Linked DNA regions of Homo sapiens: region 1 is linked to region 2. Evidence: promoter capture Hi-C in 16 types of primary human blood cells and fetal thymus (Javierre and others, 2016). All regions are on one chromosome and are shown on one strand. Each heading gives the region's core, a stretch centred on a gene start or on the middle of the fragment in contact. The rest is flanking DNA. Distances are from core to core; before and after follow the strand shown. Region 1 holds the start of RBM19 (RNA binding motif protein 19). Region 2 holds the start of CACNA1C-AS1 (CACNA1C antisense RNA 1).

What was found. The method cuts DNA at HindIII sites, captures the fragments that hold promoters and counts their contacts. A CHiCAGO score of 5 or more calls a contact.
Region 1: a contact is called between the fragment with the promoter of RBM19 here and the fragment with the promoter of CACNA1C-AS1 in region 2, in 1 of 17 cell types (naive CD4 T cells). The highest score is 8.1, in naive CD4 T cells.

Annotation. Positions count from the first base shown.
Region 1 is chr12:113,965,075-113,971,466 of GRCh38, reverse strand. RBM19 (RNA binding motif protein 19) reads left to right here and starts at 5,142. Exons shown (of 24, transcript NM_016196.4): 1 at 5,142-5,275. The coding sequence starts at 5,240. RefSeq lists enhancers at 4,836-4,905, 4,864-5,791, 5,792-6,392. The HindIII fragment of the contact is 5,534 bases long and covers 4,246-6,392 here.
Region 2 is chr12:2,689,905-2,697,041 of GRCh38, reverse strand. It overlaps CACNA1C-AS1 (CACNA1C antisense RNA 1), which reads left to right and starts at 5,885. Exons shown (of 4, transcript NR_045725.1): 1 at 5,885-5,973; 2 at 6,063-6,235; 3 at 6,832-6,902. It overlaps CACNA1C (calcium voltage-gated channel subunit alpha1 C), which reads right to left. Exons shown (of 47, transcript NM_000719.7): 47 at 1-6,142. The coding sequence ends at 5,843. RefSeq lists a silencer at 5,156-5,425. The HindIII fragment of the contact is 2,873 bases long and covers 4,107-6,979 here.

The DNA.
Region 1 (6,392 bases), core at 3,893-6,392, about 110 Mb before region 2:
TCTCTGATTTAAAACATATACAGACCGGGCATGGTGGCGTGCACCTGTGATCCCAGCACTTTGGGAGGCCAAAGCGAGAGGATCACTTGAGCCCAGAAATTTGAGACCAGCCTGGGCAACAAAGCCAGACCCTGTCTCTACAAAAAATTTAAAAATTAGCTGGGTGTGGTAATGCATGCATGTAGTCCCACCCACTTCGGAGGCTGAGGAAGGAGGATCACTTGTGCTCAGGAGATCAAGGCAGCAGTAAGGCCTGATCACACCACAGCACTCCAGTCTGGGCAACAGAGCAAGACCTTGTCTCAAAAAAAAAAAAAAAAAAAAAAAAAAGGCCAGACACAGTCACTCATGCCTGTAATCCAAGCACTTTGGGAGGCCAAGGCAGGTGGATCACTTGAGGTCTGGAATTTGAGACCAGCCTGGCCAACACAGTGAAACCCATCTGTAATAAAAATACAAACAATTAGCCAGGCACGGTGGTGTGCACCTATAATCCCAGTTACCGTCTCAAAAAAAAAAAAAGACAAAACCCAAAATAAATACATAAAGATTTACTGGGCTCCCTACAATTTCACCCCTCCAAAGCCATCCTGCAGAAATGCCCACAATTAATATACATGCTTGTTGACTTTACCCTATGGTTAAGTATAAATATATGCAGATGTAGTTTATACATGATTAACATTTTAATGTATTAAAAATAATAGGTAATTTTTTCATAATGAAATATCAAAATTATAAAAGGTTACTCAAGGTAAAGGACATTTCCATCCATCCGTATACTCACTTCCTCGGTCCCCTCCCCAGAAGCAACTGCTGTTACCACTTCCTCATGTATCTTTTGAGATCGCCTTTGCTTACATAAATCATATATAGTGTCCCCTCCAAATTCCTATGTTGGAGTCTTAACTTTTCATACCTCACAAAGTGATGTTATTTGGAAATAGAGTGTTTACAGAGGTAACTATATTAAAATGAGGTCATTAGAATTAGCTTTAATCCAATGTCTTTTAAAATGGGGAAGTTTGAACATGAACTCATGGACACAGGGAGACTGTCATGTGGAGATGAAGGCTGAGATCGGGGTGACATGTCTACAGGCCAAAGAGTGTCAAAGATTGCCAGCACACCACCAGAAGTGAGACAGGGAGGAACAGATTCAACCTCACGGCTCTCAGAAGGAACCGGCGCTGCCAACACCTTCATCTCGAACTTCTAGCCTTCAGAACTGCAAGACAATACATTTGGAAATTTACGACTACCCTGGCCTACAAACATGACAAGTATCTATGTATCCTCACCCATCTCCCTCCTTTTTTTGTGTGTGTGTTTTGTTTTTACCTAAGTGAAAGCATACATAATACATTATTTAGTATATTGCTGGTTTTCACTTAACAATATATTTTGGAGATTGTCCCATGTCCCATGTGCTAGTTCTTCTCTAACAGCCCATCTCCCATTCCCTGAGCCTGCTCCTCCACTTTGCTCTGTGCCCCAGATGCAATCTGTGTGCACTGCAACATCTGTGATCATGCCTCCAGCTTCCCATTGGTTCGGCCAAGGGGAGGCTCCAGTAGGAAACTGCAGTTGGGAAGAGAAAGAGGGGACAGTGTATTTATCCCCGACACACACACACCTGTGGTTCCACAGTGGCTGTATCTCTCTATAGCTCTAGTCCTTAAAGTACGTCCCTCTTCCATGGCTCCTGGCATCACTGAAGCTCAGGAATGACATGTCCTACTCTGCCCTTCAGCCCCAGGGGTGGTGATAGCTCCCCACTGTTGCCAGGCCCTGGGGTTTGGCCATCCTTTGTTGGTTCCCTTAACCCTTCCTGTATTCATTTGCTGCAGGTGCTGTCTCAAATTACCACAAATTAGATGGCATAACAATGCAAAGTTATTCTCTCACATTTCTGGAGGCCAGAATCCCCCAAAGCACCAGCAGGGCCATGCTCCCTCCAAAACCTCCAAGGGAGAACGCTTCCTTGCTTCTTTCAGCTTCTGGTGGCTCCAGGTCTTCGTTGACTTGTGACTGCATCACTCCAGACTCTACCTCCACCTACACATGACGTTCTCTGTGTGTCCTTTAAAAGGACATGTGTCATTGGATTTAGGGTCTACCAGGATAATTCAGGATGATCTCATTTTGAGACCCTTAAGTACATTTGCAAAGACCCTTGATATGGTTTGGCTGTGTCCCCACCAAATCTCATCTTGAATTGTAGCTCCCATAATCCCCACGTGTCCTGGGAGGGACCCAGTGGGAGATAATTGAATTATGGGGGTGGTTTCCCCATACTGTTTTCGTGGTAGTGAATAAGTCTCACGAGATCTGATGGTTTTATAAGGGGAAAGCCTTTCACTTGGTTCTCATTCTCTCTTTGCCTGCCACCAGGTAAGACATCCCTTGCTCTTCCACCATGATTGTGAGGCCTCCCCAGCCATGTGGAACTGTGAGTCCATTAAATCTCTTTCCTTTATAAATTACCCAGTCTCAGGTATGTCTTCATTAGCAGCGTGAGAACAAACTAATACAACACTTTTTTGCAAATAAAGTCACATTTACAGCTTCCAGGGGTCAGGATGCCCCCAGTGTGTGTGGTGGTGAGGGGACAGGGGATCATTCATCCCACTACACTGCCCACCCTTCTGTAAATAGCTTTTTGTCCAGATTTGCTTTTGTTAAATCCTTTTGAGTATACCTCTGTGTCCTGCTGACTGATGCATTTCCTTCAAAAACATTTATAGCTACATACCTACCGTTTTTTAACAACTGCATAGAATTCTGTTGAATGGACAGACCTTAATTTACAATTAGCATTTAATGAACTCCTATTACCTGTCTCCTCCTGGTGCCCAGTGTGATGCTTTGCAAAGATGGATCTAAGGATGCCCCTATGGCAACATAATGTAGAAAGAACAAGTGGCCTCATCTATAACTCTGAACCTACACTGTGCGCTCCTCACCAGCGAGTTCTGTAGGTTTATGCTGTGGCAGATGCATGAGCTCCCTGCATTTGGGGCTCAGTAGGAAAGAGGCATATTCGAGGATGCCATGTTTGAGCTGGTCTTAGAGAGGGGATGGGAATGGGTTCAGAAAGATATTCCAGTGGCCAAAAGCACATGAAAGATGCTGTTTCATTAGTTATCGGGGAAATGCAAATCAAAACATTGAGTCACCACTGTACACCCACTAGAGTGGCTATGATTATAAAGACCCAATAACAAACACTGGAGGAGATGTGGAGATATTTGAACCTTCATATACCGCTGGTAGGAATATAAAATGGGGAAGCCACTTTGGATAACAGGTTAGCAGGTTCTAAAAAGGTTAAGCATAGAGTTACCATATGATCAGGCAATCCTACTCCTAGGAATATATCCAAGAGAAATAAGAACATATGCCCACACAGGAACTTACAGGTAAATGTTCACGGCAAGATTATTCACAGTAGCCACAAAGCGGAAACAACCCAAATGTCCATCATCAACTGATGAATAAATAAAATGTAATACATCCATATATGTAATACTATTCAGCAAAAAAAGTGTGGTGGCTCACGTCTGTAATCCCAGCACTTTGAAAGTTCAAGGCAGGTGGATTGCTTGAGCCCAGGAGTTCAAGACCAGCCTGGGCAACATGTTGAAACCTCGCCTCTACCAAAAAATTACCAAAAAAAAAAAATTAGCCAGGCATGGTGGCATGTGCCTGTAGTCCCAGCTGCTCAGGAGGCTGAGGTGGGAGGATGGCTTGAGCCTGGGAGGCGGAGGTTGCAGTGAGCTGAGATTGTGCCACTGCACTCCAGTCGGGGTGACAGAGCCCGACCCTGTCTCAAATAAATAAACAGATAAATAAAGTGCTGATTCATGCTGCAACATGGAAGAACTTTGAAAACATTATGCTAAGTGAAAGAAGTCAATTACAAAAGACTACATATTGTATTATTCCATTTACATGAAATGTCCATAACAGACAAATCCATAGAGACGGAAAGTAGATTAGTGGTTATCAGAGGGAAGGGAGAGGGAGGAATTGGAAGGTTATAGCTAAAGGGTGTGGTGTTTCTTTGGGGGTAATGAAAATGTCCTAGCATTGATTGTGGTGATGGCTGCACACCTCTGTAAATATAGTCAGCACCATTGAATTGTGCACTTTAAGTGGGTGAATTGCATGGTTTGTGATAAAGCTGTTAACAATAAGAAGGGGGGACGGAATGTCTTTTAGGTGAAGGAAATTGCAGAAGCTTGGCAGCAACGTCCAGTGCAGCTGAGGCACTGTGGGGAAACAGAAAGGAAATACCGTCATTTAAGAGTGAAAATAGGGGTTTTCATAGGATGTCTCCATCCAAGAGTAGGTACCGAGAATGCTCAGAGAAGCAATAGGAAAATAACATCCCTTTCACGTTCTCACCTCCTTAACCCCTAGCATAATAAAGAATTATTCCCATTTTATAGAAGTAGACACAAAGGCTCAGAGGCCATTTTGGCCAAGATCTCTCAGCTAGAAGATTGGCCAGCTGAGAGTTCCAAACATTAGGAAGGGAGGCAAAATGCTTGTGGGGCTGGGGTTGAAGGCGTAGAGACTCATTGTAGGGCCCTAGGCAGTCCCTAGCTCGAATCTGACTTTCCAATTCATAGTTATAAGACTTTGAGCAAGCTGCTTTACACGCACGATTCCCAGTTTATCTGCCTGCAAAATGAGAGCGTTTATTTCCAACATGTTCATTCCAAGTATTTACACAAAAGGCTCAATACTTGATTTGTGTTGGCTGGCAATCTCTCTAAACTTCACTTTCCCCATTTCTACGAGGAAGGCAAGGGTCCCTAATCTTGCCCCCGTTCTCAGGGGAGTCCTAAGGCTCAATAATAAAAATAAAATAAGAAAAAGGAGAGAACGCGATTGCCCGGTTGGCGCGACCCTTAACACCGAGCTAAACCGGCGCATGTTAGGGACCGGCGCCCCCTGCCGCCTTCTCCGCTGCATTGGCGTCTCACAGAATCCGCCCAAGGCCCTGCGCCTGCGCAAAATGCAAGCGCCCAGGCCCACCCCTTGTGGGGTGTGACCTCCCTGAGTAGTTTTGGATTAGCCACGCCTACTTCCGGACAGGTCAGGCCAAGGTCTCAGCCACGTGACTGTGTTCCGGCTCGGTAAAGATGGCGGCGCCCAGGGCGGTAGCGTGAAACTTGGTGGAAGACGCTGACCAGTCGTGTTGGAATCAAAACAGCGGGGACCCTGCGCCATGTCGCGACTGATCGTGAAGAATCTCCCGAATGGGGTGAGTGCAGAGGCAGGACTTGGGAATCTGAAATGAGACCAGCCGGGAGCTGTGAGGTAGGGAAGAGATGCCTGGAGGTGATCGAAGAATTTTTGCTCTGGGGCAGGACTCCGGGCCAATTCTGAACTCAAAGGGGGCGGGATCCTGGGCTTATCCCCATTTGATCCCGAGGAAAGAGGAATAGTGACTGCTTACGGTTTCACGGCCGGTTGTTTGGTACCTGACTCCTAACACACCTCTTCTCGGGGAGATGACAACTCCCACCTTGTGGCGAATACCCTGCTCCCACAACCTCTTTCATTCGATCACTGTTTTTTAGTTGTTGACCCGGGACATGGTCCGACACTGTATTTATATTCCTCTCCCAGTCTGGAAACTGTTGGGGAAGACATGGGGAATATTAATCTGCGGACCTGCGTTCCAATTCCCACTCCCATCCTTAGGGCAAGTAGGAATACGGAGTGGGTAAAGGGCTTTACAGCATTTATCCAGTAAGTGGGGAGTGGTGACCCAGCCATACTTTTTTGTTTCCCTGGAGCCCAGCGCAGAACCCGACACGTGGTAGGCAAAATAGGTGAATGTACGTAATATTAGATGATTAGATGCGGTGGGCTCGAATGGATCATCCTTTTTTCTCTCTCTCGCTGTTTTTTGTTCTGTTTTGTTTTTTTGTTTTTAAATGGATTACTGCTCCTTCCATCAGGTTAGACAGTGTCTCTTGATGCCTCGCTTTGTGGGATGAGGATTTTTAGCGTAGCTGCACTTCCTTTCCCTCCCAAATTCAGCTTTGTTGTGTTTCAAGTGTAGTTGATTCTCTTATCATTGTTTGTCTTATCTCTTTTTTTTCTCTCTCTTTCATGGCTTTTTTTGGTTTTGTTTTTTGTTTTTTTCTTTTTTTGTTTTTTTTTTTTAAACGGAGTCTGGCTCTGTCTCCCAGGCTGGACTGCGGTGGAGCAATCTCGGCAGTCTCGGCTCACTGCAACTTTTGCCTCCCGGGTTCTAGCGATGCTCCTGCCTCAGCCTCCCAAGTAGCTGGGACTACAGACACGCGCCACCAAGCCCGACTAATTTTTTTATTTTTAGTAGAGACATGGGGTTTCGCCATGTTGGACAAGTT
Region 2 (7,137 bases), core at 4,636-7,135:
TCCCTTGATGTACAAGTTCTTTCCTTTTCCCCTTTTAAACATTGGTGTAGTTTCTCCATATTGGGAAGTCTTGGGGTTGGGGGCTATGTCCAGGACCCAGTGACCCACCCTCTTTTGCTTCTCTTGTGACTCTACAGGAGAGACTTCTCTTTTCTCCTGGCCAATGGCCAGGAGAGGTTTCTTCAAGGGGGTCCCTGAAACCTGCAGCCTCAGGTTCCTTGGCAAGGGAGCCACTGCTTGGCCTGGTGCCTGCTCACCTTTTTTTCCTTATTCCCTTGGTAATAAACTTGAGATCTCTAAGATTTCCACAATGGGAATTCTCCAGACCCAAACAGTGAATAAGAATCATTCTGTCCATTTCTGCATTTCCTCACATAGAAATGACCCTCTCTTAAAACTTACAAACTCTTCCACCCAGAGCTTTTTTTTTTTTTTTTTGGATAATGACCTTGGTTTGAGGTGCATGAGTGAATTTTAGAAATGAATGTACAATGTATGTCTGATTCACACCAGGGGAAGTGGCACAGTGCCCTTTCTGGGATCCCTACAAAGTCAAATTCCTTAGATCCTGAGAAGTGGAGTGCATGGGATGCCCTGAAAAGGTGGGGGTGTCCCTGTGTAGCAGCCAGTAACTGATCTGAAGGGAGAGGACTTGGCTCTGGTGATGTAACATTTCAAGCCTCTGTGTAATTACCTAGTCTTAGTCTTTTCTTCCTCATTCTTAGTAGAGACGTGGGGAACTTTCATGAAAAATGCTAATTCTGACTCCTCTCAGCGTGCAACAGATTTGTTACACTTCATCCACTCAGCTGCAAGATCTAGAGTGCTTTCAGAGGTGACTGGAAGAGTTCTCTAATACCCTACAAAGACCATGGATCTTTGCCACTTCAGGTGCTGTGGCTCAAACCTCTTAAAGTCATCCCAGGAAAAAGTGTTGATTGTAGTATTCTCTCAATGTATGTAAATAGAATTTATGTCATAATAATAGTAGGTTCTGATGGTACTACTTCCATCCAAGGGAGTCACTCTACTGCACCCTCCTTGTCTGTGTATACAGTGCTCACCCTTGCAGGAGCAGGAAAGTCCCTCATCTAGAGCTCAACCCCAGCCCTTGTGCCTTAACGGTGTGTGTCTGTGTAGTGAGGGGGGTTGTTCAAGCATCCCCCGTCAATGTAGAGATGTGGCAGAAACCCGTTCACCTGTTGTATTGGTATCTGGCTCCAGAAAGAAAAGTTTCATTGCTTTGACATAAGAATAAATTGATGAATGAAGTTAAACCCAGAAGAGGCTTCACAAAGAGGTCGTGTAAGCATCTGCCCATGGGACTCCCTTCCACGCACCGTCTTTCTCACTAGGTGTTGGGGAGGACAGGGAGCTGGGGCTGGGGAGGGCAGTGGGAAGAGGGAGCTTTGCTTAGGGACAGGGAAAGGTGCCCCATTCCTGACAGTTGTAGGACTTTTCTTTCCCTCCTGTCTTCCCCCTCAACCTCCTCAAATCGTAGCCTCTGGAGAACCTGGACTCTGGCGGCTGAGGGCCTCCCTGGGAGTGAGGTTTGGGCTTCCCCGCCTGTCTTTGCACAGCAGCCTGTGTCAGGTGGCACCTGGACAGCCTGAGGGGAGGGACATCAGCAGAGGGGGGACAGGGTGGCAGACACCCCCACATCCCACCAGGTAGGCTGATGTGGCTGGAACAACACCCCCAGATGGAATGAGTACTCTTCTCACCTTCCCAAATAGATCCTTGAGATGTCAGCGGCTCCACCACACTGGTCACTGTGGGTGGGTAAGCTGAACACATCCTTCCATGAACTGGGAAGAGGCACAGAGGGAGTCAAAATATGCCCTTTTCTTGCCTCCATTCTCCTCCCAGTCCTCTCTGTGCTGACATTTGCCCCAGAGGCAGGTCTTCTTTAAAATATGGAAACGGCCCAGACTCCATCAGCAAGTATTTGCCTCCCCTGGGGTTTAAAGAGGTCTTCTGGGAGTCAGCAGGCCCTTTTTGTGGCCTCTTTGCTGAATTGTTTCTAATCCTTGACAATGATATTTCAATTCTTGGCCTCTAGGGATGGAGATGCCATCATCCTCCTTTACCACCTTTCCCACGATGAGGCTAAAAACCCCGATGACCAGGGTTCCACTCTATCCCTGACCTACATTCGTGTTTTCTTTCTTTGCCTTTAGGAGTGGTGGCTGTGTATCTTCAGGACTCCATAAAGTAGCCACCATCTTTTGGGTGACTTCCAAAGTCCTCATTTTCTAGGTGTCACTGTTGCTCAGGAGATGAACTTGGGCATGGAAAGGTCTGCTTCTCCTGAGGTTGCCCCACTGTCTTCAGCTGCATGGGCAGGAGACATGCTGGGTGGAGAAAAGCTGGGAGAAAGTAACGGGTAGCTTCACTCCAGACAAGCACCTGGAATTTGGAACTGGGAAATAGAATGAGAGACATTGCCTTGTTCCTTTGAGTGGATTTCCCAGTGAGAGTGAGGCCTATTGGATTAAGAAGAAGGAAAGGGGTTATAACTAGTACCTTCTGAATCAAAGCTGGGAAAAATTCTCCAAGGTCTGGAAATGAAAGAGGCAGGGCTGGTCGGAGGACAAGAATTAAGTTGACCAAACTGCAGACCTTAAACTGTTGTTTCTTCAAGTCCCTTGGGCCCTTAGCCCCTGACTGTTTTCTCCTGACACTTGGGGGCTGTCAGGAGGGGTATGGAAGATGTGACAATTATGTTTTACAAGGTCATGGGGAAAATTCCATTTTAGGTGGAGAGTAGACATCACTTGGAAGATTGTGCTGTGGTTCATTGATGTCACTACTTGTGCCAGTCTGTTCTGATGACAGGCATCATACGCCAGTCTTATTCTAGTGGATCAGAAGGTCAAGCTAGGATAGTCCTCCTGCCCTAGACAGGGAACGCCTGTGTGTACCTCCTGGTAGAAATCTTGGGAACTTTTCAAAGGATGATACCTAAACTCAATTTCTAGAGGACCTTGATGGCAGTGAAAAGGAATCAAGAAAGTTTGGATGACTTGGGTGTGGATATCCATAAAGAAACTCTGTTTCTAGACTGTGTTAACCGGGGAGTATTGAGTACATTTCTCCACTTTGTCATGAATCAGTCCAGCAAGCTGTCATAGAGGAATGGACTGTCCCTTATTGTAATTTCTAGCTTACTTATATATGTGCCAAGAGGGGCTCAGGGAACACTAGGACTGGAAGAGATTTAATGGGTCAATTCTGGGTGAATGGTTGGGTCCTGTTTTCCCCAAAGCAGTCCCTTTTCAGCCACCACTGTTGACATACATTTGAAGGACACAGCACCAAAAGAGTGATGTTCTAGGGAGATATAAGTGAGCATTAGAGATGCCCCCACAAAAATCTGTTCCCACCCCCACTGTGAGCTCCGGATGCCTCTTCCCTTGTCCTGGCCCCCTCCCCGGCAGCCCAAACATTAGGGCAAGCCTGAAGGAAAGGCTGCTCCAGAGTGAGGAAGGGATGGAGAAAGGAGCACGCAGAGTTGACTTTCAGATGGATCAGGGTTTCACCAGTTCCTTTCTCGAGCCCCTGCTGTCCTTGTTGGGTAGAGCAACAAGAATCCGGAAGTGAGGATGCCCCTCCCTCCAAGCAGCCTGACTTTAATTTTATCCTCCCGGTTAGTGTACACTTTCCTAAGGAAGCCAAAGAGAAAATTCCGTGTGGTGGAAGGGAAGGGAAAGCCAGCTACCTCTTCCATGGGGGATGCGGATGACGGCCCAGTGACTGAGGGCTCATCAGAACGCCTCCCTGCACCTCACAGTGAAGGGCTGTTCTTGGAGAAGTACCAAATCAGATGACCAGAGCAGAGTGGACAGAGTGAAGACTGGAATAAAATAGGTCCTGGTCTCTCACAGCAAGAGGCGGTACAAACATACCCAGCAAACGATTTTGGAAAAATTGAGGGAAATGTAAGCAAACACAAGATATGCAAAACAGTAATGTCCAAACCTGTTTGTGGAGAGCAGAATAATGACTACACTGGTGATACCTTTGCTCATTGTGCAAACTAAAGAAAACTTGTTCCCTTTCCCCCAACCACATATAGAAAAGCACTTGAGTTCAAAGGTAAAGCTTGTCACACTCCAAATACAAAATGATTTACTTTACATGCAGCAAAATATACAAGAAGTGAATCCGAAAACCAACTTAATTCAATTCATTATATTCGCTTGGCACAATTGCAATTCAGTTTTAAAAAAATATTTGAAAAATACTGAAACTGACCTGAATTCAAGTATAACGGTTTCTTCAACAGAAACATTATCAATGCAATAAAACATTACACGGAATATATTGAAGCAAAATGCCTTCTTGTGTTTTTCCCTTAAATTTCTGTCTTTTTTTAAAATACAGTTTTAATGCCAACACAACTCACAATTGTATTTTTAAATGAATATTATTGCATTGTTTTTGCATATCTTGTGGGACAGAAAATGCAAAGAGTTACTGATTCCCGTTTCAGAAGCAGAGACAGTGGTTTGTTTTTGCTTTCAAACGGCCCCAGATTCAGATCTTCCCACAGCTAAACCAGAAAGGGGGGACTGCGTAGTCACTGGTGTGCACGGGCACATGGTGTGGGTGCATATACACGGGCAGGACATATGCACACAGACAACCCACCACACACACACGCGTCGCACACACTCGGAGACTCTCTCGCGCATGCTCCTCTCTCCCAAACCCACCTGTACACCCAGCATAAAAAGGAACCCAACTCTATCACCCACATGTGCAAGACCACATCAAGTGCATTGCCAGTTACCTTTCCATTAGATAACCGAACCAAACCAGAACAAAAATAGGTTACTACCTAAGGAAATGATAACAAATTATTGGGCATACACAATGGTTGGTAAAACTCTCCTGCAGCGGCTTCTATTGAACCTCCGTGGAAAAAGGAAACCACAACCGTTTAAATAATACAAGAAAACCAAACCCGATGTACATTGGCAAAAGTGAAAACAGAAAGGTGAGGGGGCTACAGGACTTTGTAAACACTCTTCTTCCTCCCCTCCCGCTGGGAAAGCAAAATAAAACATTTAAAAAAAACCAAAACCGAAAAGAAACTGCAACATGCTGTCAAGAAAAGTGTCAAACCACAAAACAAAAGAGCGCTCAGCGGAAGCTCAGCACCACCTGGTTGGGCGGAGCCGGCGGCGCAGCTCCTCCCTCGCGCTGCCTGCGGGCCGGCGGCTGGCCGGGAGCTCGGCGTGGCCCGTGCCGGTCGGGGGATCCCGTCGCAGGTGGGCAGGGACGGAGTGAGCCGCACCACTGCCGGCCCGACGCCCATCCCCAGAGCTCCGCGCCCCTGGAGGCCTCCTCCTCCCTCTCCGGGCCGGGTTGGGGTCCTCCTGGAAGTCCTGCCCCGCTCCCTTCTCCAAATCCGCAGGGCCCTGGCTCTAGGGAGACAGCGAGGCTCGTACAGAATATGTGCAAATGGTTTCTACAAGCAGAGTCGAAAGACACCCGTTTGCTGTAGGGTCCTTTTGGTGAGGGCGCGCGGGAAGCCGGGGTGCTCTCCCCGCGGAGGCGCGGCCGGGCCCGGGGCCTGCGAGCTGGGAGAGGGCAGGCGCCTTCCTCGCGCCCCGGGACCCTCGCCGCCTCCTCTCCCCGCCTCTGCAGACGCAGCCGGGCGCCTTCCTCCCGGAGGGCGGCTCGCGCACCCAGGCTCCGCGTCTGGTCCCAACAGAAATGAATGAAGACGCTGTTCCGGTTAACTCCAGGTCACGAGAACAGTGAGGCACTTCTGAAACGAACCCATTAGGAACATTGAAACAAATAAAAAAAAGCCCGCATCTGGCAGCGCCCACTACAGGCTGCTGACGTAGACCCTGCTGTCCTGGAGCTCCTCCTCACTCGGTCGACCCCGCGCGCGCACACAGCCCGCGTCCTCTTCGCCCCCGGCTCGGTCCTGCCCCGCGTCCCTGCAGTTCACAAAGGGTAAGAGGGCGCCATTGGGGCTCTGTGGGGCGCCCCCGCTGAGGATGTTGTCGGCCGCGCTCTCCATCTCCTCTATGGTCATGTCGCAGGCGTCGGCCAGCTCCTGGGTGGTGACCTCGATGAACTTGGGATCTTGAGCAAACTGCCCCAGTCCTTCTGAAATCAAGACCTGAAGGAGCGGGGTGGGAGCCATGAAGAACCAAAGGAACATTACTCCTGGAGCCCAGCTCTTCCCTTGAGGGCTAGAGCGAGGGGGTATCTGGTAGGTCACTTGGGGAAGTGTGCGTGTGTGCACGTGTACGTGTGTGTGTTGGGAGGGGCACCCATGGGGAACAAGTGGAGATGGAGCATCTGCCAGAATTAGGGATGTGCAGGCCAGAGAAGTTTTGGCTGGGGTGGTCAAACACTGTCATCAAATATATGAAGACTTGCTTATGGCCCAGCACGGTGGCTCACACCTGTCACCCAGCACTTTGGGAAGCCCAGGCAGAAGGACTGCTTGAGCCCAGGAGTTCGAGACCAGGCCCAGGCAACACAGGGAAACTTCGTCTCTACAAAAAATTTAAGAATAATTAGCTGGGTGTGGTGATGCACACCTGTGATCTTAGCAAGGCCAGAGACTGAGGTGGGAGGATCATTTGACCCCAGCAGCGCCAGGCTGCACTGAGCTGTGATTGTACCACTACACTCCAGCCTGGGTGACAGAGCGAGACCCTGTCTCAAAAAACAACCAAAACAAAAACCAGAGAAGGTTTGGCTCTCAGAGGGGCCGGGGGGTTGCCCTGATGCTGTATCAGCAGATCCCAGCCTGCCTCTCTCCTTTCTGACACCCACTGAACCTTTATACTATTCTTTCAGAGAAACCATTCTCCCTGGTGAAACTGCTGAGACAGGCCCACTGCCCATTGCCTGCTGCTGCCTTTCCAGGGGTGAGGTATCTGTGCAAACACGGCGCATGCCCCTGCCTTGCTTCTGCTGGGAAGGGCCAGCAGGTGACCCTTAAGCTTCTCTGTCCTCCCTACCGGCTGCTTAGTGCCTGGCTATGGGAAAATCGGCTCCTGAGCCAGCGGGTCGGGGGAAGCTGAGTGCAGCCTGGCACTCGCTCCTTTCAGGCATCTGTTTGTCTTGCTCCTTGCCCACGCCACTCATTCTCTCCTTGCCCTG